Linked DNA regions of Homo sapiens: region 2 is linked to region 1. The links are contacts of gene promoters, found by promoter capture Hi-C in blood cells and fetal thymus (Javierre and others, 2016). All regions are on one chromosome and are shown on one strand. The core of a region is centred on a gene start or on the middle of the fragment in contact, and the rest is flanking DNA. Distances in the headings are between cores, read along the strand shown.

The links. The method cuts DNA at HindIII sites, captures the fragments that hold promoters and counts their contacts. A CHiCAGO score of 5 or more calls a contact.
Region 2: a contact is called between a fragment that was not itself captured here and the fragment with the promoter of LINC02860 in region 1, in 3 of 17 cell types (megakaryocytes, erythroblasts and endothelial precursors). The highest score is 7.8, in megakaryocytes.

The regions. Positions count from the first base shown.
Region 1 is chr7:26,632,150-26,639,207 of GRCh38, forward strand. LINC02860 (long intergenic non-protein coding RNA 2860) reads left to right here and starts at 5,722. Exons shown (of 4, transcript NR_161202.1): 1 at 5,722-5,787; 2 at 6,346-7,058. The HindIII fragment of the contact is 19,305 bases long and covers 1-7,058 here.
Region 2 is chr7:26,369,479-26,376,516 of GRCh38, forward strand. SNX10 (sorting nexin 10) reads left to right here. Exons shown (of 7, transcript NM_013322.3): 6 at 2,343-2,555; 7 at 3,013-4,905. The coding sequence ends at 3,094. SNX10-AS1 (SNX10 antisense RNA 1) reads right to left here. Exons shown (of 2, transcript NR_136272.1): 2 at 2,541-3,090. Among named protein-coding and RNA genes, the nearest start is that of LINC02981, 26 kb to the right of the region's middle. The HindIII fragment of the contact is 1,856 bases long and covers 3,271-5,126 here.

The DNA.
Region 1 (7,058 bases), core at 4,472-6,971:
AGTACTTGGATGACATCCATGATTCTCTCCGAGAAGCCACGAGTGACATCCCCAGCAGGGTCAAGCCAAGTCTCACTTTGGTAGATGACAACAGGCCCCTGGTCCCAGAGATGTCCTATTCGGGCAAGAGCTTTCTGCCAAACCTGTCAAATATTTTCCTCTCCAAGGAGCATTTGAGTTAATTCACTATTTATTTACTAAATGTGCTGTAGAATATGTGTGGTAACACTGGGACATTGACACTGACCATGAAAAATTCTTTTACAACCTATACTTTCTTCAGGCCCCTAAGCATAGGGGCCTGAAGCTGATAAAAATATGCTTCCTGTATGCCTTGGACTTAGAAACATACTTATTTTTAAAAATGTATTCTTAGAGACTTTAAGGAGCTACAACATGTTGGCAAGTTTATTCTACATGCACAAGCAAGAATTCAATTCAGGAAACTTGCAATAGGTAATAGAGTGTTCTGCAGCGTCTGTACCATGTTATACACTGGTCACCATCATGAAGTCCAAGGTCTAATTAACCCTTCCCACATGTAACTAAAATCAAAATCCACCAGAGCTAAGGTTATTTTAATTTTTATATGGCATGCACACATCAGAGAAGCTCAGCAAATACCTGCATCTAATCTGCCTGCATAGCAGGTGTATCTATAAATGTTTAGGATCTGCTTTTTTAAAAATATATATATATTTTTATTATACTTTAAGTTCTAGGGTACATGTGCACAACGTGCAGGTTTGTTACAAATGTATACATGTGCCATGTTGGTGTGCTGCACCCATTAACTCATCATTTACATTAGGTATATCTCCTAATGCTATCCCTTCCCCCTCCTCCCACCCCACAACAGGCCCCAGTGTGTGGTGTTCCCCTTCCCGTGTCCAAGTGTTCTCATTGTTCAATTCCCACCTATGAGTGAGAACATGCGGTGTTTGGTTTTTTGTCCTTGCGATAGTTTGCTGAGAATGATGGTTTCCAGCTTCATCCATGTCCCTAAAAAGGACATGAACTCATCCTTTTTTATGGCTGCATAGCATTCCATGGTGTATATGTGCCACATTTTCTTAATCCAGTCTATCATTGATGGACATTTGGGTCGGTTCCAAGTCTTTGCTATTGTGAATAGTGCCGCAATAAACATACGTGTGCATGTGTCTTTATAGCAGCATGATTTATAGTCCTTTGGGTATATATCCAGTAATGGGATGGCTGGGTCAAATGGTATTTCTAGTTCTAGATCCCTGAGGAATCGCCACACTGTCTTCCACAATGGTTGAACTAGTTTACAGTCCCACCAACAGTGTAAAAGTGTTCCTATTTCTCCACATAGGATCTGCTTTTCATTGAATATAAAGGTTCTGTTAGTTATATGCATCAGTAAACATATTTTAATGCTTTTATGTTGTTTATCTTATTGTTAGATCAAGAATTTCAGAGAGTTTAGTAAACAGGAGAATGCTAGAGTTATGCATCAGCTTTCTCTTGGGATTTTTTTTCTTTTTTACATATGGCAAACAAGCATATTGATTCTCTACCTAAGGAAGTGGTTCTTGGAACTCAAGCCACAGGCGCCATATAAGGTCTTGCTGCTTAGGGTGTGGTCCATGAACCAACAGCATCAGCATGCCTCAGAGCTCCTTAGGAATGCAGAATTTTGGGCCCCACCTCAGACCTACTGCGGCAGTGGGTCATGACACAGTGGACTTTGGGGACTCTGGAGGAAAGGCTGGGAAGGGGGTGACGGATAAAAGACTACAAATTGGGTTCAGTGTATACTGCTGGGTGATGGGTGCACCAAAATCTCACAATCGCCACTAAAGAACTTACGCATGTAACCACACACCACCTGTTGCCCAAAAACCTATAGAAATAAAGAAAAAAGAACTAATGTGTTCATGAGGATTACTAATCCCAATGTCAAATGGAACACGTTAATTGCATGTGACTAAACTAATAGAGGACTTAAAAATATAGAACGAAACCAAGACAAGAGAGAGTTTAAAGTGAGAGAACATTTCTCCAGTTCACAACCAAATTCAGTCTTTGTTAAGAAATCGATTTTTCATCTTGAAGAATGAAACAATTCCTTTAGTCTCCCTAGAACTGTATCATTATTAATTATTCTTTTTTGGAACAAGTTACAGCTGTCTGCTATCCCCCATGGCCAGACAGACTCTCCCACGTCTGAGTGTCCATGTTTGTGCATCGTCTTCTCTCCCTTGTACTACTGTCTCATACTATTCCTTCCCGAAGGCAAGGACCATGCCTTCTTGACTTCTGTGTCACCAACAGAGCTCAGGCTCCGGTGATGGGCAGTTCATTCATTTTTAGAAAAAAATCACAGCCGAGAGGAGAGTGACTGATAAATAAAGGCGGAAGAAAATGGGACATTTCATACTCATATTTGAAAAAACAAAAAACAAGATCTGCCTGCCTGCAGGTAATTTGTGTGTACGCTGAAGTCTGGGAGACATTGACAAAAGGGACCCATACAGAAAGTGCACTAAAGAAAGTTACGTGACAATATGACCTGCAACAAGCCAGAAGCTCAGCTGAACTTATGGGTCTCTTGAAATTCAAGAGCTTTGCACTGCCTCATATCATTATTGCTTTGCTCTCTTTCCACCTGGCATTTCTTTGACAAAGTTGTCACTGTCTGATATCTTTTTTCCTGCCTATCAGGAAGATGCGATTCTTCTCGGAAGATTGACATAATTTTTTCTATGCATGCCCATTTTGTCTCTTTAGTTTCCTTGGAAGATCTTGGAAAGCAAGGACCCTTCAGTCTTTCTAGACTAGTTTTCTAAACTAGTAGACCATTCTAGTGCCCCATTTAGAATCTTCTACTTTTAAATGGTTAGAGATGATCCAGTTTGCATAGCATTCCTCAGACTTTTGAAATTCATGACTTATTTTGAAAAAAAAAAAAAGATCTCATATCCTATTGTTCAGTGAAAAAAAGCAAAATCCAAAACAGTATTTATAGCATGCTACTCTTCATGTAATAAAGAAGGGGAAATAAGAAAATACCCAGCTATCTGCTCCCTTGTATAAAGAAATATAAGTGGCTGGGCGCAGGGTTCATGCCTGAAATCTCAACAGTTTTGGAGGCCGAGGTGGGCGGATCACTTGAGTCCAGGAGTTCAGGACCAGCCTGGGCAACATAGTGAGACCCAGTCTATTAAAAAAAAAAATTTAGCTGGGCATGGGCATGGTGGTGCATGCCTGTAGTCCCAGCTACTCGGGAGGCTGAGGTAGGAGGATCACTTGAGCCCAGGAGGTTGAGGCTGCAGCAAGCCAAGATCCCATCATTGCATTCCAGCCTGGTGACAGAGTGAGACTCCACCTCAAAAAACAAAAAAAAAAAAAAAAAAAAAAAAGAGAAAAGAAAGGAAAAACAAATACAGGAACATAAACCAGAAACTAAAGATGTTGGCTACCTACAGGGGGTGAGTGGGAAAGGGGAGGGTTGAGGAGGGAAAGATCCTTCTCTGTATACAGCTTTTTGTACAGATCTGACTCTTTGACCATAGTAATTATTTACATAACACCCAAACTAAACAAATAATTAAAAGCAACTGGGATGTGGAGGGAACCCAAAATGGAATATAATAAACACTAATAAAGGAGTCTAACTCTACTGCAAATAAATAAGGTAACCACATTCAAGGAACAGGGAAGAAAATAACTAATCTAAACCACTGTGGAAAACAGTATTCCGCTGGATGCTGAAAAGCCAAGGGCATGGAACTGTGCATAAACGCTGTGATCAGTTAGTAAAAGCATTTCTCATGGCAGTATGAGCTAGCCGTTCAAAACTACTTTATATAGATACAGTTGACCCTTGAACAATGCAGGTTTGAACTGCGAGGGTCCACTTATACATGGGCTTTTTTCAACCAGGCGTGGTTTACGGTATTCGAGGGATTTGAAACCTGCAGAGGCGGAGGGCAGACTTTTCCTCTACTCATGTTGCCCAGGTCTGACTTCGGAACTTGAGTATGCACGAACTTTGGCATGGGTGAGGGGGTCCTGGAACCAAACCCCTGTGTATACCAAGGGACAACGGTAGTGGAATTGAACAAATAAGTAAATATATTGTATATGATGAGAGCCAGGGTTTTCACTGTTGGAGAAAGATGTCACAAATAAGAGAAGAAACAAGTATAAAATGATTTCCTGTGGTATAGCTTAGAATCATGGGTATCACTATGAACTCAAGATCTTTAAAGAGGGCAGGAGAGAAGAAGACAGAGGTAGATGGGTATGTTTGTGCAGCTTAGCATGCACACATATATACCTAGCCCTCTGTTTTGAGGGCTTAAAAGCAATACCATTCCAATAACAATGGACCCATCTACAACATAGATCTTGGTCTCTCCACACCATTCTCCTGTAAAAGGAACCAGGAATCGTGAAGAAGTGGCTGATTCCCAAGCCAGGACATGGAAAACACAAGGTCAGTCTGAAACATCTTGTGGTGCCAGAAAATAAGAAAATGCTCAAAATAAAGATAAGAGTCTGTCAAAAGAGCTCGGGAACCAATGTGAAAGAGCGAAGAGCTGAGACGATCTGAGCAGCAAGATAAAGATAGCGTTACATTTTAAGCTAGACTAAAAACATCCACAAATACAATAATTAAACATCCACACTGATATGAATAAACAAACAAAAACCACATAAATAATGAAGGAGAAAAGACAGCGCTTCTGCACAGTGGAACGCCAATGAATACATGTAGAAGGGAAGAGGACAGGACTCCACAGAGTGAGCACTGCAGACAAGATCTGCTGAGGGATGCTAGCACTGGTGAGTGAAAGCTGGAGGACAAACAGGCCATGCCTAGTCTCAAAGCGTCAGCCTAGATACTTATCCACTGCAAAGGGAAAGATAATAACTTGACAGTGAGAAACCCAGCAGACACCACCTTAATCAAGTGACCAAGATCAATGTCACCAGTTATAAGATGTGGCTCTCATGAACCCCTTGAATGATGCACTGAGGAAGATGTGCCATGATTTTTGTGTATTCTCACCAAAAAGGCATAACCTTACCCCACTCATGAGAATGCACAAACAAACCCAAACTGAGGGATATTCTCCTGTGGAACCGATCCATTTTCTTCCAAAGTGTCAGGGTCATGAAAGTAAAGGAGAGACCATGGAACCGTTACCCAGTGGAGGAGAAGAAGGAGAAATACAGCTAAATGCAATTTAGGATCTTAGATTAGATCCTGAGCAGAAAAAAAGGACATTAGTGGAAAAAAATTGTGAGTTTCAAATAGGACTGTAGTTCAGTTAGTTACATTGTGCCGATGTTAATTTCCAGTTCTTAATAGTTGTACTATGGTTATATAAGATGGTGATATCAGGGGAAATGATAGAAGAGATATAAGGAAAGTATATATTACTTTTGCCACTTTTCTGTAAGTCTAAAATTAGTTCAAAACAAAAATTTCTTTAAAAAAATCCTATGTCCTTTCTTTTAACATTAGATGAGATATGTTGATTGAACTAAATAAAAAAGGACCAAGCATGGCTTTGTTTTCGAGTTATTTATGTATGCAGATTTCAGCCTTCTGGGTGAGCTTTCCTGCCGCTGAGTATCACAGATTGTTCCAACACTCACTTTCATCATTTCCTTCACGAGGAAAGAGGCCCACGAAGGTTAAATGACTTATATGAGGTCACAAAGTCACTTGGAGACAAAATCAGCAGTAGGATCTCGGTTTCCAGCCCAGTGCAATTTCTGCTCTATCCCGCTGACCTCATTGTTGAGGTAGGTGGTAATGTAAAGGGAAGAGCTACCCCTTATGGGATGTTTCTTTCTATCAGCCTTTAGAGGGTCAGGTTTATTTGCTGGTGGTAGACTGACAGCCCAACTACTTGATAGAAACCCTACGTTGATGTCAGAATGCTGGACACCGCAAAGCTCTGGGAAGCATCTTATAACAACGGCTCAACCATTTCCTCTTCAAATGTACTGCTTAATCACATAAGTTCCTGATACGGTTTGGCTGTGTCCGCACTCAAATCTCATGCTGAATTGCAGTTCCCATTATCCCTATGTGTCCTGGGAAGGACCCGGAGGGAGGTAGTTGAATCAAGGGGGCGGTTACCCTCATGCGGTTCTCGTGATAGCAAGTGAGTTCTCACGAGATCTGATGGTTTTATAGAGGCTTTCCCCTCCTTCCCTCTGCACTTCTCGCTGCTGCCACGTCGCAAAGGAAGTGTTTTCTTCTCCTTCCGCCATGATTATAAATTTCCTGAGGCCTCCCCAGCCCTGCGGAACTGTGAGTCAATTAAATCTTTTTCTTTATAAATTACCCAATCGTAGGTATGTCCTTATAGCAGTGTGAGAACCGACTAATACAGTTCCTTAGGAAGCCCCTGCTGGGTATGGATGGGGAGTGAAGCAAGGTGGGCCCAGAAGCTGCCGCTGGCTGAGAGACCATGAAGAAAGTGTATAGAATCTCCACCATCACCAGAGGAAGAGAGCTTGGCAGGAAAGTTACTTCCATGAATGGATGAGTTGAAGTGAACAGCGTCTTGGGCAAAACTGAAGGGTAGTTAGTCGGGTTTGTCTCTGGTGGGCTTTCAGCTCCACTCCCTGCATCCCATTCCCACATCGTGATGGTCCCCTCATAGGCCCAGGGCTACCACCTTGGAGCATAGGTGGGGATCCTCCAGCCAGGGTCCTTCCTTCACAGGGAGTCAGAGCCCTCTGCTCCGGAATTGCCCTGCCCCAGGTCGGCCATCTATCAAAAGCCCCACTATCCCCTAAAGACCCACCCTCAAGCAGCAGATGTGCAGCAAGGGAGCCGCAAATGTCATTCCTGTGACCCCGAAGCAGTCTAGTGTGTTACCTCTCTCAGGGCTGCTATGGGCTGAATTGCTTTTCCCCAAAATTTCTATGCTGCTTCCCTAACCCCCAGCGCCTCAGAATCTAACTCTGGATAGGACCTGTGAATAAGTGATTAAGTTAAAATGGGGTCCTGTGGATGGGCCCTAACCCAATCTGACTGGTGTCCTTTTAAGAAGAGGAAGAGA
Region 2 (7,038 bases), core at 2,949-5,448, 260 kb before region 1:
AGCATATAAATACATTTAAAAATTATTTTTGCTTATTTAAAACTCATGGAGTATGGTGGCATGAATTTAGCCAGAGAAACAGAGGAGATTCCAAAAACCAAAACTGTACCTAGCCGACTCACTGGTTTGAACTCTAGGCCTGGGGGAGTGTTCAGATGTCCCCTCCCCAGCCACATCTTTCTGGCTCTTTGGAATTGTGAGCTGGGTGAGCCTGGCTCCTTCTCTTTTCATCTGTGTGTCCTCCAGATGGCAGTATTGAGCAGAAAAAGAAAACGCTGGGAAATAATGAGTCTAATGTACAGTAAAATTGGAAATTGAATTATAGCTCAAGAAAAAGGACAGTAGCCTTGAGGTCCCGATCAACCTGGACTCTGATCACTTTTGTTTGCTGTACCCATGTGTTAAGTTACTAGCAAGTTAATAACAACACGTGAGCAGTTCAAGGCTCAGTAGAATTGCTTCAGACATGAAATAAAGCTAAAATGAATTTGTGTCCAATATCATTGGCATTAGTGCTCATTACTGTTGTGGTGTAATGCCTCAAACCATCTAAAATCAATTTTAAAGATTACCCATTATTTTATAAAGAAAATAAAACACATTTCCAACAGAAACAAAGCCACGAGTACAATCCCATGAACAGTTCCTTGTACTTATGGCAGGCAGGAAACCGCTGACAGAGGCCACAGGAAACACTCTGCTCAGACTTCACAGACTTCACGATCCAAGTTCGTATTAATGGATTGTTGCTCTATAACTCTTCTCTTAATCTGAAGTATTTAAAAACAAGAATGGTGAATATTTGTAAATGTAGAAAATAAATCTCAAAGAGTAGTAAGAGGGATTTACTACTTAGCTACTTGTACTTGGTAAATTAATCATTATCATGTGACATGGTCATCTTTTGGGAGGACCCAGGGCGGAGGACACAGAGGGAAAAAGAAGGATTTAGCTGCTTTGCTTGAGGTTTTGCCTTTTAAAAAGCACAAAGGTTTTACTTTTCCTTCTAATAGACCAGTAAAGAATATTTTCTCAAACTGTAAACCTGCTGAAGCAAAGGGGACAGCTAGATTTTGGTTTTAATACTGTGCATTTTTAGGCATTTTTGCCTTTGTTAAGAAATAATTGTTTTATTTTGTAGAAAAGGATTTGGTATTATAATGACCTTGGATTTTCACTAAATTGATATTAATGGCCAAAAGAGATTTACTTTCCTTATTACTTGTTTAAACAAGCAGAATATAAGGTAAGGTTCATTTGGTCTGAAATACATGATCTATTTTTCACAGATCGTTATATCGGAAAAATCTTATGTTGGACAAAATTCTACTTGGGTTTTAGTGTGTTAGTTTTGTCCCCTGTATCTGGTCTTAGTGTCTCCTCTTACATAATTATTGAACTATCAGTAGAGACTAAATGATCATATGTCAACATCTTTGCTAAAAGATAAACCAGTTTTTATTTAAATATAAAGGTATACTTTGATTTGATTTCATATTCTAAGATGTGCATTTCAGAGAAAACACATTCACTAATATGAATTTGAGCATCTGTAGATTTTGCTACAGGATAGTTTTTAATCTTCCATGTAGTTCTGATGCCCTGGTTGAAATCTGTTCTGTCTTTGTAAACTTTGATCTTAAATGTGGGAAGAGCAGTATGTATTCATCACAAAATTATCATATTTTAATTATATATATGGTAAAGTTGGCTGGGATCAATTTTATTTGGTTGCTCATTTTGACAACACAGAGATTCAGTGCTCCTAAAGATTTTGGAGAAATTTACAGTTAACCTTAAGTATTAAAAAAAGCCATCTCTCTCATGAGCTGTCGTAAACATGCCCTTAAGTATATAACTGTAAAGTTTTAAAATGTAAAATATGCTGAGAATTGTATTTTCTTCATATAATTTTTAATAGTAGTTGAAAGTTTTGATGTTTCATGACAGCCTATCCCATAAAGATCACTGAATTGACATGCTGTTGGCAGTAAATTTTTTAAAGTAGAATAACTTTCTATGACTATATAAGCAAAATATTTCCATAATTAATCCACATGGTAATAAGAGATGGGTAAATTGAAGAAATGTCCTTGAAGTTATTCTTTTAACAGATGTTCTTAACTATTAGCTTCATGTTTTTACCCACCTAAATTTCCAAATAATTGAATAAAAGTTAACATATGCTTTCCTCCCCTTAATGGGCAGAGCCCATAATTGATACAAAGTTTACCACAGTAGAGAAATTACCTTCAGTGGTACTTTTCTAATGTTTTTCTTTCTTCTACCCTATCACTGACCATCCTGTTCACCAATTATTTTTCCTTTTTTTTTTAATATAGAGTCCTACAGAATGCACTTTTGCTTTCAGATAGCAGCCTTCACCTCTTCTTACAGAGCCATCTGAATTCAGAAGACATTGAGGCGTGTGTTTCTGGGCAGACTAAGTACTCTGTGGAAGAAGCAATTCACAAGTTTGCCTTAATGAATAGACGTTTCCCTGAAGAAGATGAAGAAGGAAAAAAAGAAAATGATATAGATTATGATTCAGAAAGGTATTTCCTTGCATTTTGATTTAATGTATATGTATTTATATAATACATAGTATGCACATATGCACGTGTATAGATATATATACACACTTCACTTTTTTGTTGATATAATACTAAGATAATGAAAAAATTAATTGACTGAGATTTTATTGAGCTGTGACAGCTCATCATAGTAGTCTTCACACACACCTCCACACTGAATTAATGAATGCAGTAGAAATTCAATTATTTGCATTCTGATTATGTGACTTTCATTTAGTCAGACTTGAATTATTCGCGTTTAAATTATCTAGCTAAAAAAATACCCAACTGCACTCCAAATGGCTAATTAAAAGTCCAAATTTCCTGTCTCTCTTTGTGACTGGAGATAATTAAAGTTCTCCTCTGTTACTCAGGCTTTGAGTGTGTTGTGAAAACCAATTTCCTCTTTTTATTATTTTCCCCCTCTCTTCTTTTCCAGTTCATCCTCTGGGCTTGGACACAGTAGTGATGACAGCAGTTCACATGGATGTAAAGTAAATACAGCTCCGCAGGAATCCTGAAAAATAATTCTAATGTTACTATCTTAGGAATAGCAAATTATGTCCAGTCATAGAGAAGAAAGCTTCATAATAATACATTCTTACCTAAAGCTCACTGTCATGATGTTAGGTATTTAAATTCTTAAAGATGTTGGGTTGTTTATTAGTGGTATTTTTATGTTGTCTTATTTTAGGTAAGCTTCTGTGTAAAGCTAAAAATCCTGTGAATACAATACTATCCTTTACAGGCAGACATTATTGGTAAACAAGATCTTGCCCTCCAATGAAATGACTTACATGTTTTAAAAAACCGAGTTGGTTTTATTGAATTTAAAAAGATAGGTAACTAAGTAGCATTTAAAATCAAGATAGAGCATTCCTTCTTGTATCAGTGGGGCAGTGTTACCATAAACACGGTGTATATGTTGTTAAACCCTATGAAGAGTAACAGTGTAGACCAGACTGCCTCTCTCAGATATGTGCCTGATATTTTGTGGATACCTCCCCTGCACTGGCAAAACACTATGCTTTTGGGTGTTAGACTGAAATATTTTAAGAGTATTTAACCTTTCCAGTATTCTGTTTCACGCTTAGATGGAAATGTATCTTATGAATAGAGACATATTAAAATAATGTTTACATCTTAGAAAAAACATAGATAGTGCTAGTAATATTACTTATAACTGTAATATATAGATTCAGAAATACATTTTCATTATCCAAAATCAGCTTCAACAAATGGTTTCTGGAGACAAATAATTTGTTTTCATTATCATTGTATAATCAGGTTAATGATTTATTTTTTGACTAAATGTGCAATTTCTTATCACTAGATAACTTTCAGTATCAGTGGTGGTTACTTATTACTTAAATCAGAGGAAGGATTTTATAAAGATTAATAAATTTAATTTTACCAATAAATATTCCCATAATTTAGAAAAGGATGTCGACTTGCTAATTTCAGAAATAATTATTCATTTTTAAAAAGCCCCTTTTAAAGCATCTACTTGAAGATTGGTATAATTTTCATAAAATGTCTTTTTTTTTAGTGTCCCAAAGATATCTTAGATAAACTATTTTGAAGTTCAGATTTCAGATGAGGCAACATTTTCTTGAGATAATTACCCAAGTTTCATCCATGTTGAATGGTACAAAATATTTCTGTGAAACTAACAGGAAGATATTTTCAGATAACTAGGATAACTTGTTGCTTTGTTACCCAGCCTAATTGAAGAGTGGCAGAGGCTACTACAAAAAGCAACCTTTTCATTTTCACTAAGAGTTTAAAAGCTATTGTATTATTAAAAAGTCTTTACAATGCTTGTTTCAAAGAACCAACAGAAAAAAAAGCTAAGAAAACTGAGAACTAACATTAAAAAAATTAAATTTAGAATAAGAATGATTTCTTTAATTTGTCCTTTTTTTCTTTGGTCTAAAACATTATTAAATTTTTGTAAATATTTTGATTTAATGTGTCTTAGATCCTCATTATTTTAATACAGGAAAAGAAAAGATTTAGTAATTTCTTACCATGCTAATATGTAAAGTTCATGCCATCCAGGCATTTAAGAGCGATCCTCATCCCTTCAGCAATATGTATTTGAGTTCACACTATTTCTGTTTTACAGCAGTTTTGAAAAACACATACTATGCCACCAATTGTCATATTATTTTTAGATGATGTAACATAGCCATCAAAATTAATATTATGTAATGCCTAATACTTAGTATGTAAATGTCACGAGATCATTTTTACATTAAACGTGAAAAAAAATCAACTTTGCCGGATCACTTATTTTATACAAGAGAATATATTCTGCCTTAGACCCAAACTCAGTGTTTTTTATTTTTTATGAGGAAATTTGGTAAAACATGGTTTAATATTAGCTATAGTTGTACATATTTGAGGCTTTTAGCCTTGGTTTAGTTGTTTCAATGTCCACACACTGGCTTCTTAAAACTGATTTCTTGCAGCTGAGATATTTAGATGAACTTCAGTTCCCAGTGGTTTTCTTGCTTTGTCTCTTATTTTTCTCTGGCATATTTTTTATAAAGCTTTCTTTAGGAAAAAGAAAATAATTACTGATGTAGCTAACTTGAATAGATGTTTATTTAACACTATTTTTAATGTGACTTAAATGTAAAGAATTCTAATCCTGGATTCTTTATGATTACAATACAGCAAAACTGCATTTTCCCTGGCTGATTCTTAAAGGGTAAACTATTCACCTATAAAGCCAACTTACGTGTTTTGTTGTAGAACTAGATTTATATATAACCCAAAGGTGTCAACAGCACTGAACGTCAACAACCTGTTACTTCGGCTTCTTATAAAGTCTCACTTAGAAGAAAGTTACTTAATTCTAGTTAAAATTTCAAGTTTTAAAAATTACTAGGGACAAACAAGTATTTATTTTTAAGCAGATACTATTCCTTAAGATATGAAGTATCTTGCCAGTTTTTCAAACCTAGTCCACATTTTATTGAATAATTAAATACAAACAAGTGATATGCAGTATAAAGTAAAAGAACAAAGTTTCTTTTATGACAATTAAGAAGTTAAACAACTTCATTTAGCCTGGCCACAATAACCGTTATATCCAACAGTAAACTGGACGTTGTTTTGAATTTGGTTTGTATTTGTTGGATGCCTTAAGGATTCATTATTATTGAGCTACTGTGATACCAATAAGGTTTTCAGTATTTGAGCTATAAAAGACAACCCCTTTTCATTAGAGGCCCCTTAACATTTTAAACGAAAATAACAAAGCTTATTCTGTTTCTAAATAGTCTTCCTCTTAATATTTAAATTACTTAGCTGGTATCCTGTGAATACAAGGCAACATCTTTTCAATGAAGGAAACAATTTCAGTACAATTTTGTGTTTTTGTTTGGAATATAGACCTTTTCTTAGTTTATTATATATAAACACATTTTCAAATACAAAATACTGTCTGAAATTAGTTACTGCAATTTGACATTCAAAGCATAGAATTTTCTTTGCAAATAAAGGTCATAAGAAATTAATAATTTTAATAGAGTGGAGTTCAAAAATTTCAGAAGGATGTAAATAAGCAACAATTTCTTTAACATTTGCTATATATACAAAGGACTTTGGTTCTATTCTTTGCCATATGCATCTTACAAACGAGTCACCATTGTCCCTTTTTAGCAGACACAATTGCGCTTCACTCCTACTGCAAACTTTTCTAGATCATGAGCAGTGCATTGGACACTAATTTATTTTAGCTGCGCAAACTCTGGTAGTTAATGACCCTTTCTCTTTCTCCAAAATTCCAAAGACTTCTTTTCAAAAGATATAGAGGAAAAGAGAAAAAAAACCATTAAGCTACAATTTCCTGCTGAATTTAAACTCTGGTCTAAAGACACTATGTAAATGGCTTATGCTAAAGAGGAAAATACCCTTTCTCCCCCGACGAGAAGTGTAGATTCATCCAACCCCACACCGCTTGTCTTTGCTGCTAGAGGCACAGCACGGGCATAACTTGTGGTTGTGTTTTTGCTAGTTTCTTACCTCTGGGCCTTCTTTATAGCTTTGCCCCCCACCCCACTGGCGGTGGCGCTCCCGCGGCTGCACCCTCGGCCGCCTGTTGGTTGCGGCGCCTCCGCGGCCCGCGCGCATCCCCCGCGCTGCGTCCCGCACACGCGCGCTCCCGCCGCGTCCCGCCCGGGCCGCTCCGCTGGCGGCGGCGACTGGGCTGCAGGTAGCGAGCCAGCCGGCCTCGGTCCGGTAACCCATGGCAACCGCCCTGGTAACCCATGGCAACTGCGCGGCGGAAAGAAAAAAAAGAACCGTGGTGGGGCGGGGGGCGGCGGGCGGTGAATGGGAACAACGACCGCAAAGAGACAGCGATTTACCGCGCGGGCCTGCGGCTCCCGGCCGCACCTGCTGCAGACGGCCCGCGAGGCCCCTTCCCGCGCTACGGTGACGATTCTGGCTGCTG